5 separate regions of the Homo sapiens genome follow, and all the other regions are linked to region 4. The links are contacts of gene promoters, found by promoter capture Hi-C in blood cells and fetal thymus (Javierre and others, 2016). All regions are on one chromosome and are shown on one strand. Each heading gives the region's core, a stretch centred on a gene start or on the middle of the fragment in contact. The rest is flanking DNA. Distances are from core to core; before and after follow the strand shown. Region 1 has its middle 7.0 kb from the start of LINC02038. Region 2 has its middle 24 kb from the start of LINC02038. Region 3 has its middle 21 kb from the start of LINC02038. Region 4 holds the start of HES1 (hes family bHLH transcription factor 1). Region 5 has its middle 42 kb from the start of LINC02038.

The links. The method cuts DNA at HindIII sites, captures the fragments that hold promoters and counts their contacts. A CHiCAGO score of 5 or more calls a contact.
Region 1: a contact is called between a fragment that was not itself captured here and the fragment with the promoter of HES1 in region 4, in 8 of 17 cell types (total B cells, megakaryocytes, naive B cells and 5 more). The highest score is 13.5, in total B cells.
Region 2: a contact is called between a fragment that was not itself captured here and the fragment with the promoter of HES1 in region 4, in 1 of 17 cell types (total B cells). The highest score is 5.6, in total B cells.
Region 3: a fragment that was not itself captured here is called in contact with the fragment with the promoter of HES1 in region 4 in 6 of 17 cell types (total B cells, M1 macrophages, M0 macrophages and 3 more); the score reaches 11.9 in total B cells.
Region 5: a contact is called between a fragment that was not itself captured here and the fragment with the promoter of HES1 in region 4, in 10 of 17 cell types (total B cells, naive B cells, megakaryocytes and 7 more). The highest score is 19.5, in total B cells.

What each region holds. Positions count from the first base shown.
Region 1 is chr3:193,849,673-193,852,372 of GRCh38, forward strand. No RefSeq gene overlaps it. Among named protein-coding and RNA genes, the nearest start is that of LINC02038, 7.0 kb to the left of the region's middle. The HindIII fragment of the contact is 3,497 bases long and covers 1-2,700 here.
Region 2 is chr3:193,867,103-193,869,802 of GRCh38, forward strand. No RefSeq gene overlaps it. Among named protein-coding and RNA genes, the nearest start is that of LINC02038, 24 kb to the left of the region's middle. RefSeq lists an enhancer at 2,368-2,700 and a silencer at 2,538-2,700. The HindIII fragment of the contact is 9,161 bases long and covers 1-2,700 here.
Region 3 is chr3:193,822,105-193,824,804 of GRCh38, forward strand. No RefSeq gene overlaps it. Among named protein-coding and RNA genes, the nearest start is that of LINC02038, 21 kb to the right of the region's middle. The HindIII fragment of the contact is 5,516 bases long and covers 1-2,700 here.
Region 4 is chr3:194,134,717-194,137,416 of GRCh38, forward strand. HES1 (hes family bHLH transcription factor 1) reads left to right here and starts at 1,432. Exons shown (of 4, transcript NM_005524.4): 1 at 1,432-1,772; 2 at 1,901-1,996; 3 at 2,245-2,332. The coding sequence starts at 1,665. RefSeq lists a silencer at 1-399 and enhancers at 1,390-2,589, 1,399-1,558. The HindIII fragment of the contact is 7,369 bases long and covers 1-2,700 here.
Region 5 is chr3:193,800,554-193,803,253 of GRCh38, forward strand. No RefSeq gene overlaps it. Among named protein-coding and RNA genes, the nearest start is that of LINC02038, 42 kb to the right of the region's middle. The HindIII fragment of the contact is 1,297 bases long and covers 652-1,948 here.

The sequences.
Region 1 (2,700 bases), core at 126-2,625, 290 kb before region 4:
TGAGGCTTGTTATCCCCGTGTATTCCATCTCATGGGGTCTTCACCTTATGTGTGCGTCCTCGTTTAGACCACAGCTACCTGAACATAAGCAGGGCCGTGTCCTATGTGTCTTTTATTCTTCAAGCCTAGCATAGTCCCTCTATAAAAAGTGCTCAATAAATGCTTATTGTGATAGAAAATTCATAATGTGACTAAAATATGAATTAATAAATGCTTAAGACTACCAGCTATGAAGAAAGGATTGAGTCTTGTTCTGATTAGGTAGTATACAACAGACCATTCCAAATGCAGTGGCTTTATACAACAATGGACTATCATCCTCCCCAGCCTGTGGGTTGACTGGGTTCAGTTCCTATGTGGTTCCTGCCTGGAGTCTGGTTACAGTCAGCTGGAGGCCCAGGAAGGGATCATCTAAAGACTCAACTGGGATGGGCGTGAAAAATGGCCTCTTCCCCCACATGCGTGGGCCACAGTCGCAATGGCTGGAAGAACTGAGGCCTGAATAGGTGGCCATCCACATGTGACTCATTTAGGAGTCCTCACACCATGACAGTCTCAGGGTAGCCATACTTCTTACATGACAGTGGTTTTCCTCAAACAAGCATTCCTGAAGACCCAGGCCACACTGCAAGGCTTCCTATGACCCACTCAGAAGTCACACGGCATCACTTCTGCAGCATGCTGGTGGTCAAAAGCAAGTCACAGAGCAGGGCAGGTTCAGGAGGAGGAGACTTCACAAGGACATGGACCCATGTCCAATCAGAAACCTACATCAGGAAAGAAAAGTGAAACTTCATTACCCTAAGCATCACTGAAAGCAACACAGGGCAAAAATAAAAACTTCATGTAAAATATATATGTTTAAATAAAATACCTTAAGATATTTTAATAGGGCTTAGGGCCTCAGCTGTATATCGTATTGCACATATTATCAGGATAAACCTATAACACTTTGGGGCAAACAAACATTTGTGAGTCTCTGCAGAAGACAAGAAACTCAGAGTTTTAGAGAATGGCCAAAATCACCCCAGGGAACCTATAGGAAGCATTGCTTGTTGGTGGGGCAGCACTTTCAGCATTTGATGTAGAGCCTTATGCAGGTTTTCCTTCAGATCCCGCTTCTTAACATGTGGGCAGCTACCTGGACTGAATGAAAGGTGCTGGGAGTTAAAGACAGGCCAGGAAAACAACAACTCACAGGTAAGAATGTTCAACACATTTGTTTGTAGCAAACAAGAAAGAACCTCGGTGTCCAACAGTAGAGGACTTGTTACAAGCTGTTATGTTCTTACACAGTGGAAAATTATGCATTTGATACTGCTTAATGAATTTTAATGGCAAAGTGTACAACAAACCATCAGGTGAAAAAGGAGTCAATATACAAAAGTTTGCATGAAATATTCCAATTATGTTCAAATATGTACATGCACAGAGAAAAGGCTAAAAGGTTATATATCTTAATTTCAACAGTAGATATGTCCACATAGCAGAATTATTAAAATGTTTTAACATGTTTTACTTTGTGCTTTTTGTATTATACAAGTTCCACACAGTGAGCACATATAATTTTCATAATCAGAAAATAAAATTAAGAGTGAGATGAAACTCCAGTGGGAAGTTGGGGCTGCGTCATGGCCCCAAGGCCCCCCCAAAAGCCTTTTATCCTGGAGCTGCTAGGGATCAATATATTATCTCTTGTAGATGTGAGGCCTTATCAGCTACTACCTTAGATCAATACTGTGTGCTCTCATGTAAGTTTCTTAACTTCTCCATTCTCTGGTTATCTACTCCATCAAACAGGGGAGTTGGACAGTAGGATTAAATCTTTAGAACTTCAGAATTTACAAGCACTTTCTCTTATCCTATTCCTCTTCACAATAGCCGGATGGCAGAATCAAGGCAAGCCTTATCACTGTTTGGCCTATGGGAAAACAGGCTCAGCAAAGTCAGGTCAGTAGCCCAGGGTCACACAGATGTTAGGCAGCGGTGAGCATTCAAAACCAGGTCTTTGGGCTTTACTCCAGCAGATCTGACTGGTAAATCAGGATTCCTTTCCTAGATCAACTGTAAACTCCCATCCTGTCATAAAACTCCGGCCAAAATTTCTGCCTTCTGAGATCACATATCCTAGGACTAATGTCTTTCTTGTTTCTGTATTCCAAGGATCTTAAAGGCAGCTCTAACATCTCCTTTGAGTTATCTCCAGTTCTGTCTGCTCCTGCTCAAATGACATTGTATGGGGTCCACACACCATTTTAGAATCCCAGAATCAGAATTGGAAAATATATTTAAAGGTCATCTGTCCTAAGAAGTCCCTGTCAGTCTTTTACAGAAAGCCTCTCATCTGAAAAAGTCCCTCGACAATGCTCCCAAGGGGGTCCTTGGGCCCAGGGCCAGGGCGATGAAGTGCCCTTTCCTCTACCGAGTGGGGAGACATACACAGGTGACCTTAATTCAAAGAGGGAATGTTTGGGGCTGCAAAGTTTGAGGCCGAGTGACTCAGGCCTTTTCACAGGGACATCGTGCACAATGGAAAGATCTGAAAGTTCCAAAGGGAAAGAAAACCAGAAAGGCCAAGACAACTCACACACACAGAAAGCCAGCTTAGAACAAATCCAGAGGGCCAAGAAGAAACCTGTGGAAAAAAATCTCTCTCCTAAGAGGGCTCTATTGTGTGTACTCTGGGTCAAAAGAGCCTCG
Region 2 (2,700 bases), core at 151-2,650, 270 kb before region 4:
AATGCAAGCAGCCAGGTGTGCACCCACCAGGTCATGCGGGGAACACTGGAAGAGGGCACTAAAGTCAGTTCCAGCAGGGTTGGGTGAGACCTCAGGGTGATGCATGGGCACTGTTTTTGCTCTCCCTACTGGACCATTCAGCCTGAGACATGCTGTAGTCTCTCCATTAAAAGAGTCCTCCACTGGCTCCTTACATCCTCTCTGTCCTAGTCGGTTTGGCTACTATAACAAACTATCATAGATTGGATGGTTTATACACAACAGAAACTTGTTTCTCACAGTTTGGGAGGCCAGAAGTCTGAGAACAGGATGCTAGTCTGGTCAGGTTCATTGAGGGCCTCCTTCCAGGTGCAGGCTGCAGACCTCTCATTGCAGCCATACATGGTAGAAAGACCGCCAGAGAGCTCTCTGGGGTCTCATGTGTGAGGGCACTCATCCCATTCATGAGGGATTTACCCTCAGGACCTAATGACCTCCCAAGGCCCCCTCACCTAATACCACCACAGTGGGATTTGGAGTTCAGTGTACAGATTTGGGAGGCACACAACATTCAGTTCATAGCACTCTCTAACTACTACCCCAGTTTCCTTTTTCAGCCAATAATGATGCCCAAAGTCACATGCCCTCTGGGAGCATTACCCACAGGAACATGTGGGATTGGTTCATTGCCACAGAGATTTGGTGGGGCCCAAAGGAACTTCTAGAAACTTCAAGTTTACACATCACTACATCTGCTTTTGTTGTCTCTGTGGACTCCCAGTCGCTTCACAGGAGGCCGCTGGATGCTGCTGAACATGCATCTCGGGGGCCTGGGGGAGCTGAGTGCCACTCCCAGGTTGGCTCAGACTCGGCCCTAAGCACCGCGTAGTGATGTGCTTCCCCTGCCACCCCCCACCTCACCGCACTCTCCTCGCTATGTTCTCTCCATCTCCAGGAGACACTTCCCCTTCAAGGCCCCATTTAAAATTCTCCTTTTCTGTGAAGACTTTGCTGATCTCACAGCCAGACAAGCCTCTCCTTCCACTGGACTCAACATCCTTTTGCCCGTATCAAGAAGGTAGCAATTGTCATGCTCCACATGGGTCTCCCTGACAAGCCCGGGCACTGCCTGGTGGCAAGAACCGCACCTCATTCATCTTTATGGTGCCCAACACCCGCTAGACTCTCAGGATTGTTGGATAAAGGAAGACTTCTTTGCCAGACATTGAGCAAGACTCAGTTTTTGTAAGGTGTATATGCTCATCTCTAAAATAGGGGCAGACAGGCCTACTCAAATCCAGTGAGTCCAGCAATGGGGGGAATGCCTTGCAAATCCTAGAGAACTGCAAGGATGTGTGAGGATTCTTCTCCATGCCATCACATACTTCTCAGGGCCAGCCTGGTGACCTGGCCCAAGAGAAGCAGGTATAAGATCATTCCGGCCATGCATGTTTTCATTTCCATGAGATGAAGAACTGTGTGTCAGTTTTGACTCTTACATACTGATGCCAGATGCACTCTTGCGTGTGTGGATCTCTCCCCAGTCCAGGGCAGTAACCTCACAATGGTACCTACAGATGCACAGGAGTTGCCTAAACATTGCAAAAGGAAGGACAGAATTAGAGCAGTTAGTTTTCTTAGGCTTCCTGTAGAGCTTGTCTCAATACCCACCCAGAGGGCACTGGAGGGTGAAGAAATTTCCTTTCTCAAGCCCTTCATTCACTCACTCATTCCCTCTCAGCTTCAGCGCACTCCCTGGTGGAAACAAACAGGTAACGGGGTGGTAAGCCCTATGACAGACCTTTGCAAATGTCCTCAGAGGCGTGCAGAGGAGGAACACTTACGCCAGACTCCGGGGAGAAGCTGCCTGCGGGAGCTCTCACCTGAGGAGGACACAGGAAGGGTTTTCCTTGCAGCAGGAACAGCTTACGCAAAACCTGGATGTGAGCAAGAACATGATGTGCTCCCAGAAGAATAAACTGTTCAGAGCGGCTGGCGTGTAAAGGGTAAAGGCTGAGTGAGCAGAAATGCCACCAGAGCAGGGGGTGAGAGCCAGACCAGGGGCCCTTAGGAGCCAGGCCGAGGGTCCTCTCTGAAGGATGCCTGAAATGCCTCCGCTGCAGCTTGCTAGAGGCCTTCTAATTAACCTGCGAAGAACCGTCTGCAGGCCCCCAGTCCGGTGTTCACTCGTTCATTCATTCGCTCTTCACTGGGTGCCCTGGCACTCCAAGCCTCCAGCGCACACCCAGCCCTAACCTTGACCAGGGTGCTGAGCACGAGGAGCCCCACCCTGAGCCAGGCCTGGAGAGGCGCCTTTAAGCGCAGGTCCTGCGGCTGCTGACAGGTCATCAGAGCTGGGACCAAAGACCCGCCGGGAGGCTGGCAGCCTAGGTCGCTTCCCAAGCTCTCCGGGCCCTTCCCTTCGGCGGCTAATTTCCACTTTTCATAAGGATGTGTTCATTCAGGGGACTAGGAGCAGAGGCGCGCCCGATGGGGGACACGTGCCCCCTCGACGGCACGCGCTTTGATGCTCGCGGGGGCCAGAGGCGAGGCGGCCAGCATCTCGCGTTCCTGCGCCGGACGCTGTCTTTGGGAAGCTCCAGGCGTAGGTTCGCATTGCGTGCGGGAAGCCCCCTGCCCACATGAAAGGCTCGCTGTCGGGCTGTGGGTCCCGGCTCCCGCCCCCAGCCCTGCAGACACACTCCGCTCCCAGCGAGGAGC
Region 3 (2,700 bases), core at 18-2,517, 310 kb before region 4:
AGAAATTTTTTTTTAATAATTTTGGGTTAAGCAGATTCCTTAGGAAGCAGAAAATACAAATTATAAAAGAAAAAAACTTAGTCATTAGGCTTCATCGAAATTTAAAAATTTGTTCAGTGACAGGAAATGAAAGGTCACGGATTGGGAGAAAATATTTGCAAACTATCTGATTTGAATTAAGAATATATAAAGAACCCTTATAACTTAATAGCAAGAGAAACTACCCAATTAAAAGATTGGCAAAAGATATGAACAAATGTTTCACCAAAGAAGATATATGAATAGTCCAAAAGCACATAAAAAATGTTCAACACCACTGGTATTAGGGCAATACAAATTAAAATTAAAACCACAATAAGATCTAATTATATGCCTGCTAGGAAAATTAAAAAACAAAACAAAACAATATGGAGTGTTGATAAAGGCATAGAGAAACTGGGATCCTTGTAAGTTGCTAGTGGAAAGGTAAAATGGTAGAGCCTTTTTGCAAAAGTTTGGCATTTTCCTTTAAAAGTAAACACGTGCTTGCCATGCAACCCAGCAATTCTGCCCCTAGGTATTCACCCAAGAGAAATGAAAATCTGTGTCCTACCAAAGAGTTGTAAGTCAATATCCGTTGCAGGATTATTCATCATAACACTAAATGGAAGCAATGGCAATGTCTGTCAGTTGATGAATGGTTAAACAAAATGTGGTCTATTCATACAGTGAAAAACTATGCTCCAGAAGAAAGAAATATGTTACAAATTCAGGCAACAACATGAAGAAATCTCAAAAACAGGTTAAAAGAAAGAAGGCAGACACAAAGGACTACATGATTCCATTTGTATGAAATTTCTAAAAATGGCAAAACTCTAATGATAAAAGCATATCTGTGGTTGTCTGGGGCTGGTCTTGGGATCAGGGATCAACGGCAAAGTGGTGTGAGGGAAATTTTTGTGGCAATGAAAATGTTTTAAAACTTGAGTGTGGTAGTGGTTACAGGACTGTATAAATTCACTAAAACTCAGTGACCCATATGCTTCAAATGAATGAATTTTATGGCATGTAATTTATGCCACAGTAAATTGGTTTAGAAAAGTCTTTTAATACATGAAACACCTACTAAAACAAATGAATTAAAAAAAAAAACCCCCACAAAACTCTTGGCTTTGAATGACTGTGGTTCTGCCCTTTCCTGGTTCTCCTCATGCCTCCGGGATGAGTTGCAGTCTCTTTCATGGAACGCTCTCTTCTGCTAACCCGGTAATGAGTGTTGCCTCTCAGGATCCAGCCTTTGGCCACTGCTTTCTAATGCCAGAGCTCCTCTCTGCATCATTTCACTCATACTCCTGCTTTTCACAATGATCAAGTGACTGTCAGGGGTATGTTCCTATCCTGACCTCTTCTCTGAGCTTCAGACTCATTGATTCAGGTGGTTTTGTTTTTGTTAGTGTTTTTTTTTTTTTTCCTTCAGGATATCATTAGCTGGTGCCTGTGATAATGGACACCACATACTCCATTGATACAACATTTGACTCATCTTTCTCCTCCTTTACCTTCTCTTCCTCTCACATCCTTCATCTGTCTTAGTGTCACCACCATCCACACAAACATTCAAGCTAGAAATGTGAGGGTCAAATATATATCAATCACCAGACCTGGGTTTTGTTTTGTTTTGTTTTTTTTGAGACGGAGTCTCACTCTGTCGCCAGGCTGGAGTGCAGTGGCGCGATCTCGGCTCACTGCAACCTCCGCCTCCTAGGTTCAAGCGATTCTCGTGCCTCAGTATCCTGAGTAGCTGGGATTACAGGCATGCACTGCCACCGTGTCCAGCTAATTTCTGTATTTTCAGTAGAGGCGGGTTTTCACCATGTTGGCCAGGCTGGTCTCAAACTCCTGACTTTGTGATCTGCCCACCTCCGCTTCCCAAAGTGCTGGGATTACAGGTGTGAGCCACCATGCCAGACCCAGACCTGGTTTTTATTTTATTTTTGTTTTAAAATAAAGTTTACATAGAAAAAAATGCTCAGGTTTTAATGTTTAGTATGATTAATTTTGACAATCATACACATTCATGTCATAATCCTCAAAATAAAATATAAGACATTTCTATTCTTTGAGGAAGTTCCCTCATGCCTCTAACTGGTCAACAACCCCCCACCTAACACCCCAAAACACTTACATAAACCCACAAACTGGTGTCTAACATTATATATTCGTTTGTCTACATTTGGATTTCATGTAAATGGAATCATACAGTGTGTACTATTCTGGGTCTGGTTTCCTTCACTTCCCATAATGGTTTTGCCAGTCATCCATGTTACACTGAATATATAAATAGTTTGTTCCTTTCTATTGCTTAGTGATATTCCATTATATGGACATACCATAGGTTGTTTATCCATGTACTTCCTGGTGGACATCTGGGTTGCTGCCAGTTCTTCAATATTTGAATAAGACTGCCATAAACATTCTTTACAATTTTATTGGGAACATATTTTTCTTATACAAGTCTGTATAAACATAGTTTTCTTGGGCAAATACCTAGCAGTGGAATTGCTTGCTTATAGGGTAGATGTACACTTATAAGACACTCTCAGAGTCCTTCAAAGAGTTTCTGCCATTGGCCTCTCCCACCAGCAGTGCATGAGAGTTCCAGGTTCCTCACATTCCCACCAGCACTTGGTATGATCATTTGTTTTGATTTTAGCCATTCTA
Region 4 (2,700 bases), core at 182-2,681:
CGCCGGGAAGAGCTGACCTTGGCCTGGGGAGGCGGGGGTGGGGAGAGAGGGTAAGCGCCGGGGCTCGGCTCCCAGCCCGCCGCCCCCTCGGATTCCTGGCCCGGCGGGGCCGGAGGAGGGGGCCCCGGACACACACACACACACACCCCCCACACGCAGCGCGCGCCAATGAGCCCGGGCCAGGCGCAGGGGGCGGGGTTTTCCCAGGCTCGAGCACAGCAGCTGCTATTTACCTTCTTGGCTTCTCCCGGGGACCAGGAACCGGCCCCCGCTCTCCGCCGCCCGTCGCCGCCCCCCGCCTCCCTGCCCCCGGGGCGCGCGCACACACACTCACTCACACACGCACGCACACACACATCCTCCCGGCCCGGCCGCAGCCGCGGCGGCAATAAAACATCCTGGCACGTGCTCCGGCTCCAGGCGCGCCCACGCCGGCCGGCTGATGTCAAACTGCAGCTCGGCTGGTGTAGCTCTTAAAGGGCCCGCGGGCGCCGGGGGCCGAGGCCGCCCGCGGGGCGAGGAGGGAGAGGCTGCTTCCTTGCCCGCCACCTCAACGCGCCGCAGAACCTAAAGCCTACGGATGAAAAGGGAAAGGGTGGTGAAGGAGGGCGCGAGTCCCTGAGTCATTGCCCTCGGAGCCCCCCTTGTTCATTTTTTCATTTGAAATACCGTTTCCTTCCACCCAGTTGGAAATTATTCTGATTGTTTCCTGGGGAAGCCCGGGGTCTAAGGCCCCAAATCCAAACGAGGAATTTCTGAAAGACGGGGTGGGGGTGGGATTCAAGAACTACCTTGCTCCGAAAAACCTGCATTTGTGAGGTAGAAGGCAATTTTTCCTTTTTCTGCATGGAAACAGGAAAATTTTTTTGGCCCTTTTCCTTTACCATCTACTTTCACCCTCCTGAATGTAAAGTCTGAGCGGGAACTTTAGATGTGTCGGTAACTCACATTCTTACACCCGTCCCCCCCTCCCCCCGCCCCCTTTTAACCACTGCTGTTTTTTTCTTTATTGTTTATACCTTTAAAAAAAATATGTTTCAAATGAACTTACTACAGTCAAAGCAGCTCTGTTACATATGAGAGAGGGCATAAAGAGCAAAGACCCTGGCTCCAAAAGAAATAGACAAGATCAAGACCAAAGCGGAAAGAAAAAAAAAATCTCTAAACCAAAGCCCAGAGGGAGAGTAGCAAAGGGTTAAAATCCTTTTGATTGACGTTGTAGCCTCCGGTGCCCTGGGCTCAGGCGCGCGCCATTGGCCGCCAGACCTTGTGCCTGGCGGCCAATGGGGGGGCGCGGTCCACGAGCGGTGCCGCGTGTCTCCTCCTCCCATTGGCTGAAAGTTACTGTGGGAAAGAAAGTTTGGGAAGTTTCACACGAGCCGTTCGCGTGCAGTCCCAGATATATATAGAGGCCGCCAGGGCCTAGGGATCACACAGGATCCGGAGCTGGTGCTGATAACAGCGGAATCCCCCGTCTACCTCTCTCCTTGGTCCTGGAACAGCGCTACTGATCACCAAGTAGCCACAAAATATAATAAACCCTCAGCACTTGCTCAGTAGTTTTGTGAAAGTCTCAAGTAAAAGAGACACAAACAAAAAATTCTTTTTCGTGAAGAACTCCAAAAATAAAATTCTCTAGAGATAAAAAAAAAAAAAAAAGGAAAATGCCAGCTGATATAATGGAGAAAAATTCCTCGTCCCCGGTGGCTGCTACCCCAGCCAGTGTCAACACGACACCGGATAAACCAAAGACAGCATCTGAGCACAGAAAGGTAAGGGCGGTACCTGTATCTCTTTGCAGCCCCTCAAAATTAAGTAGGGGTTGGGGGGCTTCTTTCTGTCTTGAAACCCCGGGATGGCAGATTCCATGGGAACACAGAACTCTTTTTTTTATTTGCAGTCATCAAAGCCTATTATGGAGAAAAGACGAAGAGCAAGAATAAATGAAAGTCTGAGCCAGCTGAAAACACTGATTTTGGATGCTCTGAAGAAAGATGTAAGTGGGGAAATGCTGCTCGCTCTTTTAATTAAAAAACAAACACTTTCTCAGCTACTAAGAGTGAAACCCCCCGCCCTGCGGGGTCTGGCACTCGCTGGTACTGCGTTCTCCCAGGCGGGAGGGCCCGGCCTTATTCGCTGGGGTCCAGAGATAATGCTTGCGCTCCGTGGCCGGGAGGAGGGACCCCCAGCACTCTGAAGCAGCTGACACGGGGCTCACTTTCCTTTCTTGCCTACTCTATGCAGAGCTCGCGGCATTCCAAGCTGGAGAAGGCGGACATTCTGGAAATGACAGTGAAGCACCTCCGGAACCTGCAGCGGGCGCAGATGACGGGTGAGGGCGGCTCGCCGCGTCCCCCTGTGCGGGCGTCCCGCTCGCCTCGCGGTGATTTCTTCCAGACTTCCGCCCGTGGTTGTGAGAGGCATTCAGCTACATTTTACTGCCTTGGCTCACTCTTGCGTTCCCACGGTCTGGGGCTTATTTATAGCCACAACTCCAAGTTGTTACTGTTCCGGAAAGGGAGGGAAAGAGGTTGCAGCCGCGAGGGTGGCGGGCGCCGGGTAGGGGCGAAAGGACTTAGGACTGTGGCGGTTTGGAACTGCGTGGAGCCTGGGGGTCACTGGTTTAGCACTCCTTCCCGTTGCAGAAGGGGAAATGAGGCTTGGATGATGGATTGGGAGGCATTGTCCAAGGTCACATCG
Region 5 (2,700 bases), core at 50-2,549, 330 kb before region 4:
TTCCTCTCCTGTTAAAACTTTTAAGCATTCCTTCTGTGCCGTATCTGTTACACAGAGCAATACATAATGGACTAGACAGGATTATTGGCCCAAATGACAAAACCAGATGTGATATGGAAGTTTTTTTCCTATAACCACACATACATCTTTGGCCTCACACAGCTGTTCATTGTAAATAGGAAGATTCACACAATGGGCGAGATGGGGTGCAAAACCCACCATCCACATTCCTTTAGGGGTAGGAAGTGGAGAAGGGGCATTCCTCAGGTCTTGTCTCCTGGCCCCAGCAGGTGTGAGCTGTTGCCTACAGGATGTGATCTGCAGATTGTGAAGGGGCCACCTTCTAGAGGACAGCATGGTAGCAAAAACCTCTTGGGATGGGAACCTGGGCCCCAGTGCTGCCGTTTCATGTCCCGAGATTTGGGACAAGTCGTGTCAGCACTCCAAGCCTCAGTGTGCTTCATCCATGCAGTGGGGATGAGAGAGTCCTTGTCCTAAAAATGTCTTTCTCAGGTTTTTAAAGTTAGGATTATGTTGGCCTCATAAAATGAGATGGGAAATGGTCATTTCTTTTCTTTTTTTCTGAGAGCTTCTGTAAAATGGGTCTATAAGTATGTGATAGAAGTCACCAGTGAGACCATCTGGGTCTGAAGCTTTCTTTGTGGGAATGTTTTTGAATAAGATGATGAATTGAAATTTTTGAATAGAAATTGGGCTGCTTAGATTTTCTGTTTCTTGTTGAGTCAGCATTGGTAAGTTATGTTTTTTGAGACATATGTTCCTTGAAATAAATTATTGACTTTGTTGACAGAGTTCATAGTATTCTTTTATTATCCTTTTAGTGTCTGTAGGATCTATAGGATATCCCTTCTTTCATCCTTGAAATAAGTCATTTATGTTTACTTTATTTTTTTCTTGATTAATTCATAAGGATTTGTAAAGTTTATTAATCTTGTCAAAGAATAAAGCGTGGCTTTGCCAATTGTTTCTATTTGGAGTATGGTTTTTATTTCATTGCTTTCTGGTCTTTCATTTATTTCTTTTTTCTTATGTTCATACTTTTTTTCTCCGTTTTAGATTTAATGTGTTATTTTTCCAGCTTTCTAAGGTAGATACTTAGATCATTGATTTTAAACCTTTCTTCTTTTTAATATAAGCATTTAAGCTATAAATTACCATCTAAGCAATGCTTTAGTTGCATACCATACATTTTGGTATGTTGTATATTCATTATCAGTCAGTTTAAAATATTTTCTTTTTTCTTTCTTTCTTTTTTTTTTTTTTTTTAAGACACAGTCTCCCTCTGTTGCCCAGGCTGGAGTGCAGTGGCACAGTCTTGGCTCACTCAGCCTCTACCTCCCAGGTTCAAGTGATTCTTATGCCTCAGCCACCCAAATAGCTGGCATTACAGGCGTGCTCCACCAAGCCTGGCCAATTTTTGTGTTTTTAGTAGAGACCGGGTTTCACCATGTTGGTCAGGCTGGTCTCAAACTCTTGGCCTCAAGTGATCCGCCCACCTCGGCCTCCCAAAGTGCTTGGATTACAGGTGTGAGCCACCACGCCTGGCCTCAAAATATTTTCTAACTTCCCTTTTAATTAATTCTTTGACCCAGGTCCAAGTTCGAAGCATGTTATTTAATTTCTAAATATTTGGAGGATTTTCTAGGTATCTTATTGTAATTGGCTTGTAGCTTAGTTTTGTTTGCTGGAAGAATACATTCTGTAATACTTCAATTATTGGAAACATTTTGAGATATATTTTGGGCCTCAGCAAATGTTTGATCTCAGTCAATGTTCTATTTGCAGCTGAAAATCATGTGTATTTATACTTATTGGGTGTGGAAAGTTCTATAAATATCAATTAAGTTGTGTTGTTTGGATCTATATCTTTACTGTTTACTTTTTTGTATACTTGTCCTATTAATTACTAAGAGAGGGATTCATAGCAAGCTTTTTAAAGCATAAATCAGAATATGGCCTTCCCAGTGTAAATTCCTCAAAGTCATCTTAGTGCATTTAGAATAAAATCTAATCTAGCCTGGGCAACATGGCAAAACCCTGTCTCTACAAAAAATACAAAAAAAAATTAACCAGGCAGGGTGGTGCACGCCTGTGGTCCCAGCTACTCGGGAGGGTGAGGTGGGAGGCAGAGGTTGCAGTGAGCTGAGATCACGCTACTGCACTCCAGCCTGGGTGACAGAGTGAGAGACTGCGTCAAAAGAAAAAAAAAAAAAAGGAATAAAATAGAATCTTGCCCTGACCTGTAAGAGACTATATAATTCATTTCACGTCCTTCCCTCAGATCTCCTCTTCTAGGACACCAGCCACCTCCCCACCCTAAACACTAATTATACACCAGTCACTCTGGCTTTTTCTCTGTTCTCTTAACCCACTAAATCTATTCCTCAGGACTTTTGCATTTGCTATTGCTGTTCCCTTAGCGTGGGCTTATATCTTCACCCAGATGATCGCACAGCTACCTCCTTCACACCCCTTAAACCCAAATGTCATTGCCCCAGAGATACCTCCCAGGACCTCTCTATCTGGAGCATTCTTTATCACATCACCCTGAATTATTCTCTTTCAATAATTTTTAACTATTAAAATTAACCCCTTTTATTAATTTTTTTGTGTTTATGGTTTGTATGTTAGTTGTGTTCAATGCTCCATTTCTAAAGCTGAGAATAGAGCTGGCTTGTA